Regions from separate parts of the Homo sapiens genome. Here region 2 is linked to region 1. The links are contacts of gene promoters, found by promoter capture Hi-C in blood cells and fetal thymus (Javierre and others, 2016). All regions are on one chromosome and are shown on one strand. Each heading gives the region's core, a stretch centred on a gene start or on the middle of the fragment in contact. The rest is flanking DNA. Distances are from core to core; before and after follow the strand shown. Region 1 holds the start of ZNF154 (zinc finger protein 154). Region 2 overlaps ZNF329 (zinc finger protein 329).

Region 1 (5,446 bases), core at 496-2,995:
AAACTTTATAACAAAGCAGCAGAGATTTCTCGGCCAGGCTCGGTGGCTCATGCCTGTAATCCCAGCACTTTGGGAAGCCGAGATGCGTGGATCACCTGAGGTCAGTGGTTCGAGACCAGCCTGGCCAACATGGTGAAACCCCGTCTCTTCTAAAAATACAAAAATTAGCTGGGTGTCATGGCGTGCGCCTGTAGTCCCAGCTACTTGGGAGGCTGAGGCAAGATAATCGCTTGAACCCAGGAGGTGGAGAGGTTGCAGTGAAACAAGACTGCGTCATTGCACTCCAGCCTGGGCAATAAGAGTGAAACTCCATCTCAAAAAAAAAGAAAAAAAAAAAAGAAGAGATTTCTCACCTATATACCCTGAGTGTCTCTGCAGCCAGCAAAGCAGATGAAGGCCTGCTGGGTTGGAGCCCTAGGCCCTCCAATGCTGAAATGCCCTGTGAAGTCTCCATCCATCCAGGCACTCTAGTAACCTGCTTCTTCTGCCTGGAATTTATTCTAAAAATACCCACATGGCTCATTTCTCACTTCCTTCAAGTGCATTTCACCGGCTTTCTGATTAAGAAGTCCCACCTCTCCCCTTTGTCTCTTATCAAAGTAGCATTTCTTTCATTGTTTTTTGAGATTGATGTTAGACTTCTAGAAGGAATATATCTCAGATATCAAGTAAGAATTATGAAATGGATAAAAGCGTTGCTCAGTGAATTGGACACAGTTATTGACTGGACACAGTAATTGGACACAATAATTGACTATGCAGGCAAAAGATGTTTTCTGTTGGAATCAGACAGAATTCTACCTTTGTACTACTGTTTCAAGGTGATCTAACATTTCTCTTCTATCTTCTAGAAGCACTATCATGCCACTATCTGAAGTAGTTTTTCACCTGTCCCTGACCAAAAGTGCACAGACTGACTTCAATGCTTCGGAGTGCATACATTTGAAATGTAATATGATAGAGGCTGGGTACGGTGGCTTACGCCTGTAATCCCAGCACTTTGAGAGGCCGAGGCGGGCAGATCACCTGGGGCCAGGAATTTGGGACCACCATAGTGAAACCCTGTCTCTACTGAAAATACAAAAAATTAGCCTGGCGTGGTGGCGCGCGCCTATAGTCCCAGCTACTTGGAAGGTTGAGGCACGAGAATCGATTAACCCGGGAGGCGGAGGTTGCAGTGATCCCAGATGGCGCCGCTGCACTCCAGCCTGGGGGACAGAGGGAAACTTTGTCTTAAAAAAAAAAAAAAAGGAATAAACTTATATGGTAATGTTTATTAGCTTCCCTACTAGTGGATATATTTCGTGTCTGAATGGCTCTATGGAATGATGTACATATTTGGATTGGCAGCCTTAGGGAGCGTCTGATAATAATTTTAGCCTCTGGGAGCCTGCTGAACTTTATGAAGTTTGAAATAATATTCCCCAAACACTTGGGTGATCAGTTGCAGATGGCACCTCTAATATGCTGTCTGATTACGACCCATTTAAGAAAGGGCGAAGTCCCTCCACTGCCCTAGGACTTGGATAAGCCATTTCTCATCGCCCAGCGCCCTGGAGCTTCGCTTTTACTCCAAGAGGTTGGTGCAAAGGGTCCCCGGCACCCACCTCGGGATCTATGAAAACTACATTACCTAGAATGCTCTGCGTTGAACGCCACGCTACTAAGCCAGTAAGAGCTCAGAAAACCGACTTTCCTTGAGAGTCACAAAAAGAAAGGACGGGACTTTTGGGGGGGCCTCTTCGTGGCGGCCATTTTAGCTTCTCTGAGGTGTGTTCACCGGATCAGAGATAGCAGAGCGCCGAGTTGGGGCCACGAAGGCGTGAGGGGAGTCGTCGTCCCTCCTGCACGAAAGCGTCTAAGCCTTGGCGACGCCGCCCTGGGGGACCCACGTCAGGCCTGGGATAGGGACCGCTGTCCCCGGGTCCCTACCAATGTCGCCCGTCGCTCCCGGCCCAGCTCTACCCGCAGAGTCTGATGGCAGCGGCCACTCTGAGGACGCCAACTCAGGTGAGTGCGGCGTCTTCCCGTCCTCACACACCTTCCCCCACCCACGTTCTAAAGCCATCAGTGAGGGGCGCCTGCTCGAGTCCCCGCTGCCCAGGGTCGGGGACACTGAGGCGTTCGTGGGTGGGGCCCTTTTTTTGACACTGCGTGTGACGAGGTGTGGGAGAGCGTGACAGGCGGAGGAACCGGCGCGTGCAAAGGTTGAGGCGCGACTGAGCCAGGAGAATTCGGAAAGCTGTTTTCTGCAGGGAACGAAGAATATGAGGCGGAGTTACTCCTAGGGTTGTACTGTCATTGTGAGGATGCTAGAAGCCACGGAGAGTTCTGAACAAAGGAGGGACGCCATTTATGTTAGTTTTTTTTTCTTTGAGACGGAGTTTCGCTCTTATCGCCCAGGCTGGAGTGCAATGACGCGATCTCGGGTCACTGCAACCTCCGACTCCCGGGTTCAAGCGATTCTCCTGCCTCAGCCTCCCCAGCAGCTGGGATTACAAGCCTGCAGCTGGGATTACAACGTCCGGCTAATTTTTTGTATTTTTAGTAGAGACGGGATTTCACCATTTTGGCCAGACTGGTCTGGAACTCCTGACAAGTGATCCTCCTGCCTCGGCCTCCCAAAGTGCTGGGATTACAGGCGTGAGCCACCGTGCCCGCCCTATGTTAGGGTTTAAAAACTTTTCCAAAGACTGTTCACAGGAAGAGCAGCGATGGGGCGATGAGGACATTGAGATAGTGGGAGGCTACATCTTTTTTTCATTGCCCTACAGTTGGCAAGAGGTGACAGCACTGAGACCAGAAAGTAAAACAGCCAGCCTGAGTTCAGGGCCAGGCAGGGCTACAGGGAGGCTTGAGCTCATCTAGCCTCACCAGGGATGCATTCCTCTTTCCCTGGTTCTCCCAGTTGTAGAAGGGCGTATGGAACTCACATAGGGAAGTGGAGAGTGTTCGGTCCCTCAGTAGCCTCTACCCCCATGTTCTTGGGATTGTGGTTTCCTAGTATTCTTAAGTGCTGTTACCCCAATCCTGGGTCTGGTGCCCTGGAGAAATTCCAAGCCCAGGGCTCTTAAGTCCATGCCAGAGGTTACAGGGGTTATACTGAGGTGTTCCCATTTTTGTCAGCCAGTGGAAACTTGTGAAAGGTTATCTCTGGCACTGGTATCAGGAGGCGCAAGTGCTTAGTAAAACTAAGCTGAGATTTTTGAGGAAACCATAGATCTGTTTCCTTTTAGCTGGGAACAAAGAGCAGGGGGAAGGAGTCAGGACTGCAGTGGCTGCCTGAGAAGTTGGGTACCTATTCTGGAGGTAATGAGAGATTTGGGTTACAAGAGGGAGGTGATCTTACCAAAGTCCTAACAGGGTCCATCCCGTTAGCGTGGAGAGCAGACTGTGGGGTTGAGGGAAGAGGAAAGAAGATCAGAGTGGAAGCTACAGCCAGTCCAGGGTAATGGACCAGAGTCATTGATTAGGAGATGTGTTGCATTCTGGATGCAAATTTTTAAAGGGAGCAACTAAATTTTCTGATGTAGACAGCGAGGGAGTGAAACAGGATTCAGCGATGACCCCATGGTTCTTCAACTGAGATGGAGAAGTTGGTATTAACAGTAATATTCACTGGAGACAACAGGAGCTTTATTTGGTCATGTAAGAGTTTGAGATGTTTCAGAGACATTAAGTAGGCATTAAGTAGGTGGCTGAACACCCAGGTCTGGAAATCTGGGGAGTGCTTCAGAATGGAGACATCCAAAATGTGGTGGTCATTGTGTGGACTAAGGTGAGTGAGCTGTGGATTACATTTAGAAGGGTTGTTCTATTTTTTTTTTTTTTTTTTGAGATGGAGTGTCTCTCTTGTTGCCCAGGCCAGAGTGCAATGGCGCGAGCTTGGCTCACCACAACCTCCGCCTCCCGGCTTCAAGCAATTCTCCTGCCTCAGCCTCCCGAGTAGCTGGGATTACAGGCATGCGCCACCACGCCCGGCTAATTTTGTATTTATTTAGTAGAGACAGGGTTTCTCCATGTTGGTCAGGCTAGTCTTGAACTCCCAACCTCAGGTGATCCACCCGCCTCAGCCACCCAGAGTTCTGGGATTACAGGCGTAAGCCACCGCATCCGGCCTACAAGGGTTAATCTTTAGGCATGGTGGTACAGGTTATTTGGCCAGGAAGGGCAGAATGGGGGCTAAGGACCAAGCCTTTTGGTTGGATAAGTGGGTGATATTCTTGGGCTTTCTAAACAGAGGTAAGGGAGGTTAGTGGCTATGGAGGTAGGGTGTTTGGAGAGGATAGTTGGGCAGGTGGCATACACTTTCAAGGGAAGAGTGGATATAAGGTGGATGCAGAGGCATAGGTGTATTTGAGGCAAATGGCTGTCCTTTTTTTCCTTTGTGCTTATTCAGCACTCTGTGGAATCACCAGGATTTTTTGATGACTTTGATGGGGCCTAGGGTGTTTATTCAACCTGGAGGATAAGGCCAGGTGCCAATGTGGTCATCTGTGACAGTCACTTGGCCTGGGGTAGGTGATCAGTGGAGCTAGTCTTTGAGTGTTAAGTGGACAGAGGAAGGTTGTTACTGCTGAGGGGCTAGCAAGTGCAGCACGGAAGTGGAATAGGGCCATGGGTATCTGAGATGCACATGTGGTTCTGTGTGGCCTAAATCTGAGGCAAAGAATGGAGCCAGCCAGGGAGCCCTCATAGGATTTGGGGCTGCTACCACTAGTGGATGCCCTGGGAGATCTAGGGTAGTATTAGATCCGTTTGAATCTGTCGAGCATACTCTGGACGCTGTGTGCTAAGTTATGGTGTAAAGTCTAAAATTAAGGCCCAGTATGACATCTGGTGAAATCAGGGTGGCATCAAATGGCCTGAGTACAAGTTTCCCTCCCTACTCTTCTCCCAAACAGACAACCCTTTTAATCAAGGAGACCAGGCACAATTTCTGCCTATCACTTTGTAGCAGATTTCAGCTCCCTACCAGGTCATGGAGTTTTCCAAACAAGCCCATTGTGGGAACCAGGGGGCAGTTGATCCTTTTGTTCTCAAAGTGCTTGCATCCCACAGTTTTTGGTTATTCACTTTTTTTCTGGACTAGACCCCCATGTGACCCTGTGTGGTACATGTTGTCCTCATCTCCCAGGTTCTATGTACATATGATTAATAAACTGCTATATCATCTTTCTTTTTTTTTTTTTTTTGAGACGGAGTCTCGCTCTGTCGCCCAGACTGGAGTGCAGTTTCGCAATCTTGGCTCACTGCAACCTCCGCCTCCTGGGTTCAAGCAATTCTCCTGCCTCAGCCTCCTGAGTAGCTGGGATTACAGGTGTGCTTCACCACGCCCGGCTAATTTTTGTATTTTTAGTAGAGATGGGGTTTCGCCATATTGGTCAGGCTGGTCTTGAACTCCTGACCTCGTGATCCACCCGTCTTGGCCTCCCAAAGTGCTGGG
Region 2 (5,446 bases), core at 1,682-4,181, 420 kb before region 1:
AATGCCTGGGCTCAAGTGATCCCCCCACCTCGACCTCCCAAAGTGCTGGGATTACAGGTGTGAGTCACCACACCTAGCCCACATTCATCATATTCATCAATTCCTTTGTTTTTCCTTCCTTCGTTCTTGGGGTTTTTTTGAAGAACAACATTTTCTAATTCCTCTGGCTAGTATCCTTGGAAATGAACTCTGCTTTTGCTTTTCTGAATTTTTTTTTTTTTTGAGACAGTCTCACTGTTGTCCAGGCTGGAGTGAATCATAGCTCACCGCAGCCTCAACCCCTGGAGCTCAAGCAATTCTCCTACTTCAGCTTCCCAAGTAGTTGGGACTAACAGGCGCATGCCACCACACCCTGCTAATTTTTGTATCTTTTGTAGGGACGGGGTTTCACCATGTTGCCCAGACTGGTCTCAGACTCTTGGGCTCAAGTGACCCATCCACCTTGGCCTACCAAAGTGTTGAGAGTACAGGTATGAGCCACCACATCCAGCCTCTGAAACAGTCTTTATCTCACCTTTGCTCTTGAACAATAGTGTGACTGATAGATTTTTTCCTTCAGTGCTTTGAAAGTAGCCTTCCGTTACCTTTGGGTTTCCAGTTTTTCTATTAAGTGATCTATTGTAATAATTTTCGTCATTCACTGGTGGTTTCTCTTCTCTCTGCTGGCCTTTAAGACCATCTATTGGCCAGGCGCGGTGGCTCACGCCTGTAATCCCAGCACTCTGGGAGGCTGAGGCGGGCGGATCACGAGGTCAGGAGCTCGAGACCATCCTGGCTAACATAGTGAAACCCTGTCTCTACTAAAAGTACAAAAAATTAGCTGGGCGTGGTGGCAGACACCTGTAGTCCCAGCTACTGGGGAGGCTGAGGCAGGAGAATGGCGTGAACCTGGGAGGCGGAGCTTGCTGTGAGCTGAGATCGCACCACTGCACTCCAGCCTGGGTGACAGTGCAAGACTCTGTCTCAAAAAAAAAGAAAAAAGAAAAAGACCATCTATCTACGTAGGTATGGATTGATGTTCGTTTATCCAGCTTTCTGACTCTGAGATACCTACCAGTGGAACTGCTGGGTGGTAGAATATACCTAATTTATGTTTTCTTTTTTTTTTTTTTTTTTCAGACGGAGTCTCGCTCTGTCCCCCAGGCTGGAGTGCAATGGTATAATCTTGTCTCACTGCAACCTCTGCCTCCTAGGCTCAAGCGATTCTCCTACCTCAGCCTCCCGAGTAGCTGGGATTACATGCATGCGCCACCGCGTCCAGCTAATTTTTGTATTTTTAGTAGAGACATAGTTGCCCAGGCTGGTCTTGAACTCCTGACCTTAGGTGATCCACCTGCCTCAGCCTCCCAAAGTGCTGGGATTACAGGCGTGAGCCACTGTGCCTGGCTTAATTTTTGTATTTTTAGTGGAGGTGGGGTTTCACCATGTTAGTCAGGCTGGTCTCGAACTCCTGAGCTCAGGTGATCCACCCACCTCAGCCTCCCAAACTGCTGGAATTATAGGCGTGAGCCACCGCGCCTGCCCCCAGTTTATGTTTTCACAGCTGCCACTAAGGTACCCTGCCAAGCACGCTGACCACTTTCCAAGCCCTCTTCCCTTGTGACCTACCAAAGCTTTATATTATTGTACTTCATTTTATTTTTACTCACGTGAAATGTGTATATTTTGTGTTCTTAAAGTCGCAGTTTGGAATTGCCTGAATGATAGAATGAGAAAATAAATATTGATGTTTTCAGGACATTTCTTTTTTTTCTTTCTTTTTTTTTTTTTTTTGAGGCAGAGTCTCGCCCTGTTGCCCAGGCTGGAGTGCAGTGGCGCTATCGCGGCTCACTGCAAGCTCTGCCTCCCGGGTTCATGCCATTCTCCTGCCTCAGCCTCCCAAGTAGCTGGGACTACAGGCGCCCGCCACCACGCCTGGCTAATTTTTTGTATTTTTAATAGAGACGGGGTTTCACCGTGTCAGCCAGGATGGTCTCGATCTCCTGACCTTGTGGTCCACCTGCCTCAGCCTCCCAAAGTGCTGGGATTACAGGCGTGACCCACTGCTCCCAGCCAATGTTTTCAGGACATTTCTATTTTCCCTTCACGAAGTGCTCTTTGATTACTTTGCCCATTTTTTTTCTTTTTATGTGCTGTTCTGTAAGAATCCTCTGTAGTTCTTGGGCAGTAATTCTTTGTGCTTTTAAATCTTATTTTCTCTCTGTAAGAATCCTCTATAGCTCTTGGGCAATAATTCTTTGTGCTTTTAAGTCCTATTTTCTCCCTATCTGCCACTTGCATTTTGTCTCTTATTGTGTCTTTTATTGGATGGAAAATTTGAATGCTGATATCAGACTTCTTAATCCTTGTCTGTTTTTTATTTTTTGGTTTTTGTTTTTTGTTTTTAAGACATGGTCTCTTTTGCCCAATCTGGAATGCAGTGGCACAATTACAGCTCACTGCAGCCTCAGCCTTCTGTGTGGGCTCAAGTGATAACTCCCACTTCAGCCTCCCAGAGTGCTGGGATTACAGGCATGACCCCCAATGCTTGGCCATATGGTTTTTTGGTTAAGTTTTGTTGATCAAAGTCTGCCACACTTATGAAGGCATACTACATTATTTAAACTTTGACTTTATGTTGCAGCCTGTATCCTTCTGAAATGTAAATACACGCGCACACACACACACACACACACATATACACATATACATGTATATATATTTAAATTGCCTAGAATGTAGACATATATGTATGTATGTATTCTGAGGCAAGGGTCTATTTTCATTTTACCTTAAAAAATAGAAAGAAGGCTGGGCACAATGGCTCATCCCTGTATTTGCAGCATTTTGGGAGGCTGAGGTGGGATAATTGCTTGAAGTTTTTGAGATTGAGGCTTCAGTGAACCAAGATCACACCACTGCACTTCAGCCTGAATGACAGAGCGAGACCCGATCCCACCAAATGAATGAACGAATGAATGGACAACCAGTTGTCTTAATATTGTGAAGTCTGAATGGACAAGGATGGTGACAGGAAGATTGATATGCATGAAGACACATGCAACCATTTACAGAATGCCCTTCATCCCCTAGCCTTGGAGACTGCTTTGTACATGATCCAGTTTTTTTTTTTTTTTTTTTTTGAGACGGAGTCTTGCTCTGTGGCCCAGGCTGGAGTGCAGTGGCACGATCTTGGCTCACTGCAAGCTCCGCCTCCCGGGTTCGCGCCATTCTCCTGCCTCAGCCTCCCGAGTAGCTGGGACTACAGGCGCCCGCCACCACGCCTGGCTAATTGTTTGTATTTTTTTAGTAGAGACGGGGTTTCACCACGTTAGCCAGGATGGTCTCAATCTCCTGACCTTGTGATCTGCCCACCTCGGCCTCCCAAAGTGCTGGGATTACAGGCGTGACCACCGCGCCTGGCCGACATGATCCAGTTTTTATAACAACCATGCAGGGCAGTCTTTGACAGTTTTTGTTTTGTTTTGTTTTTTGAGATGGAGTCTCACTCTGCCGCGTAGGCTGGAGTGCAGTGGTGTGATCTCAGCTCACTGCAACCTCTGCCTACCAGGTTGAAGTGATTCTCCTGCCTCAGCCTCCAGAGTAGCTGGGACTACAGGCATGTGCCACCACGCCTGGCTGATTTTTTTTGTATTTTTAGTAGAGACGGTGTTTCACCATGTTGGTCAGGCTGGTCTTGAACTCCTGACTTCAAATGATCCACCTGCCTCCACTTCCCAAAGTGCTGGGATTACAGGAGTGAACCACTGTGCCCCGCCAGGTCATTGACAGTTCTAAGACTTAGACCCAGAACTTTTAGGTCACCAAGCCTGTGCTTTGTCCTATCCATGAATGCAGAACTTTGATGACAGAGCTGGGGTGAGAACTGTTCCTTCAGTGCTGTTGTAAGCTCATTGTGAAGTCAGAGCTTTGGAAATGTGTACTGATGGGCAGTGTGTGACAGGGACAAGAATGCAGTGGCTGGGATGGAATTCTAGGGGGAGCAGGGATGCTTGGCCTCTGGTCTCTCACATCTCAAACTAATCCTTTTGGTGATGATTTATCCCGAGGTCCATTCCTCCTGCCTGCTCTCTAGGAAGATGAAAATGCTACATGGCTCTTTTTGAATCTGTTCTTGGTTCCATTCCTTGGCTACGATTTTACCTCTTCCTTGTATAAATTTGAATTTAAAAGAGAAAACAAGTAAAAAAATACACATCTTTACACCTAGCCCATCATCATTGTCTGTTTCTCTTACAGATAAAGCTTCATATACCTAAGTCTGCATTTTTCTTCTTTTTGCAGTTTGGGATATGAGATTGAAAATGACGACTCGGAATTTTCCTGAGAGAGAAGTACCCTGTGATGTAGAAGTGGAAAGATTCACAAGGGAAGTTCCCTGCTTGTCCAGTTTAGGTGATGGTTGGGACTGTGAGAACCAGGAGGGACACTTGAGGCAATCAGCTTTAACTCTGGAGAAACCAGGGACTCAGGAAGCAATTTGTGAATATCCTGGTTTTGGGGAGCATTTGATTGCAAGCTCAGACCTTCCACCGTCTCAGAGAGTTCTGGCAACAAATGGTTTCCATGCACCTGACTCAAATGTTAGTGGTCTGGATTGTGACCCCGCCTTACCCAGCTATCCTAAAAGTTATGCAGATAAGAGAACTGGTGACAGTGATGCCTGTGGAAAAGGCTTCAACCATTCCATGGAAGTTATTCATGGAAGAAATCCAGTGAGAGAGAAGCCCTACAAATACCCTGAAAGTGTTAAGTCTTTTAATCATTTTACCTCTCTTGGTCATCAGAAAATAATGAAAAGAGGCAAGAAATCGTATGAAGGTAAGAATTTTGAGAACATCTTTACTCTGAGCTCATCGCTTAATGAAAACCAGAGAAATCTCCCTGGAGAGAAACAATATAGATGTACTGAATGTGGCAAATGCTTCAAACGGAACTCTTCTCTTGTTTTGCATCACCGAACTCACACCGGAGAGAAGCCTTATACTTGTAATGAGTGTGGAAAGTCCTTCTCCAAGAACTACAACCTGATTGTGCATCAAAGAATCCACACAGGAGAGAAGCCCTATGAATGCAGTAAATGTGGGAAAGCTTTCAGTGATGGCTCAGCTCTGACACAGCACCAGAGAATTCACACAGGCGAGAAACCTTATGAATGCCTAGAGTGTGGAAAAACCTTCAACCGAAATTCATCCTTAATTTTGCACCAAAGAACTCATACAGGGGAAAAACCATATAGATGTAACGAATGTGGGAAACCCTTCACTGACATCTCCCACCTTACAGTGCATCTCAGAATCCACACCGGTGAGAAGCCCTATGAGTGTAGCAAATGTGGAAAGGCTTTCCGGGACGGCTCGTACCTCACCCAGCATGAGAGGACTCACACTGGAGAAAAGCCCTTTGAGTGTGCAGAGTGCGGGAAATCCTTCAACAGAAACTCTCA

Evidence for each region. The method cuts DNA at HindIII sites, captures the fragments that hold promoters and counts their contacts. A CHiCAGO score of 5 or more calls a contact.
Region 2: a fragment that was not itself captured here is called in contact with the fragment with the promoter of ZNF154 in region 1 in 2 of 17 cell types (erythroblasts and non-activated CD4 T cells); the score reaches 6.3 in erythroblasts.

The regions. Positions count from the first base shown.
Region 1 is chr19:57,705,503-57,710,948 of GRCh38, reverse strand. It overlaps ZNF154 (zinc finger protein 154), which reads left to right and starts at 1,745. Exons shown (of 3, transcript NM_001085384.3): 1 at 1,745-2,010. The coding sequence starts at 1,978. RefSeq lists enhancers at 1,565-1,624, 1,645-1,774, 1,518-2,157. The HindIII fragment of the contact is 9,236 bases long and covers 1-5,446 here.
Region 2 is chr19:58,128,350-58,133,795 of GRCh38, reverse strand. It overlaps ZNF329 (zinc finger protein 329), which reads left to right. Exons shown (of 4, transcript NM_024620.4): 4 at 4,285-5,446. The coding sequence starts at 4,293. Among named protein-coding and RNA genes, the nearest start is that of ZNF329, 20 kb to the left of the region's middle. The HindIII fragment of the contact is 2,632 bases long and covers 1,616-4,247 here.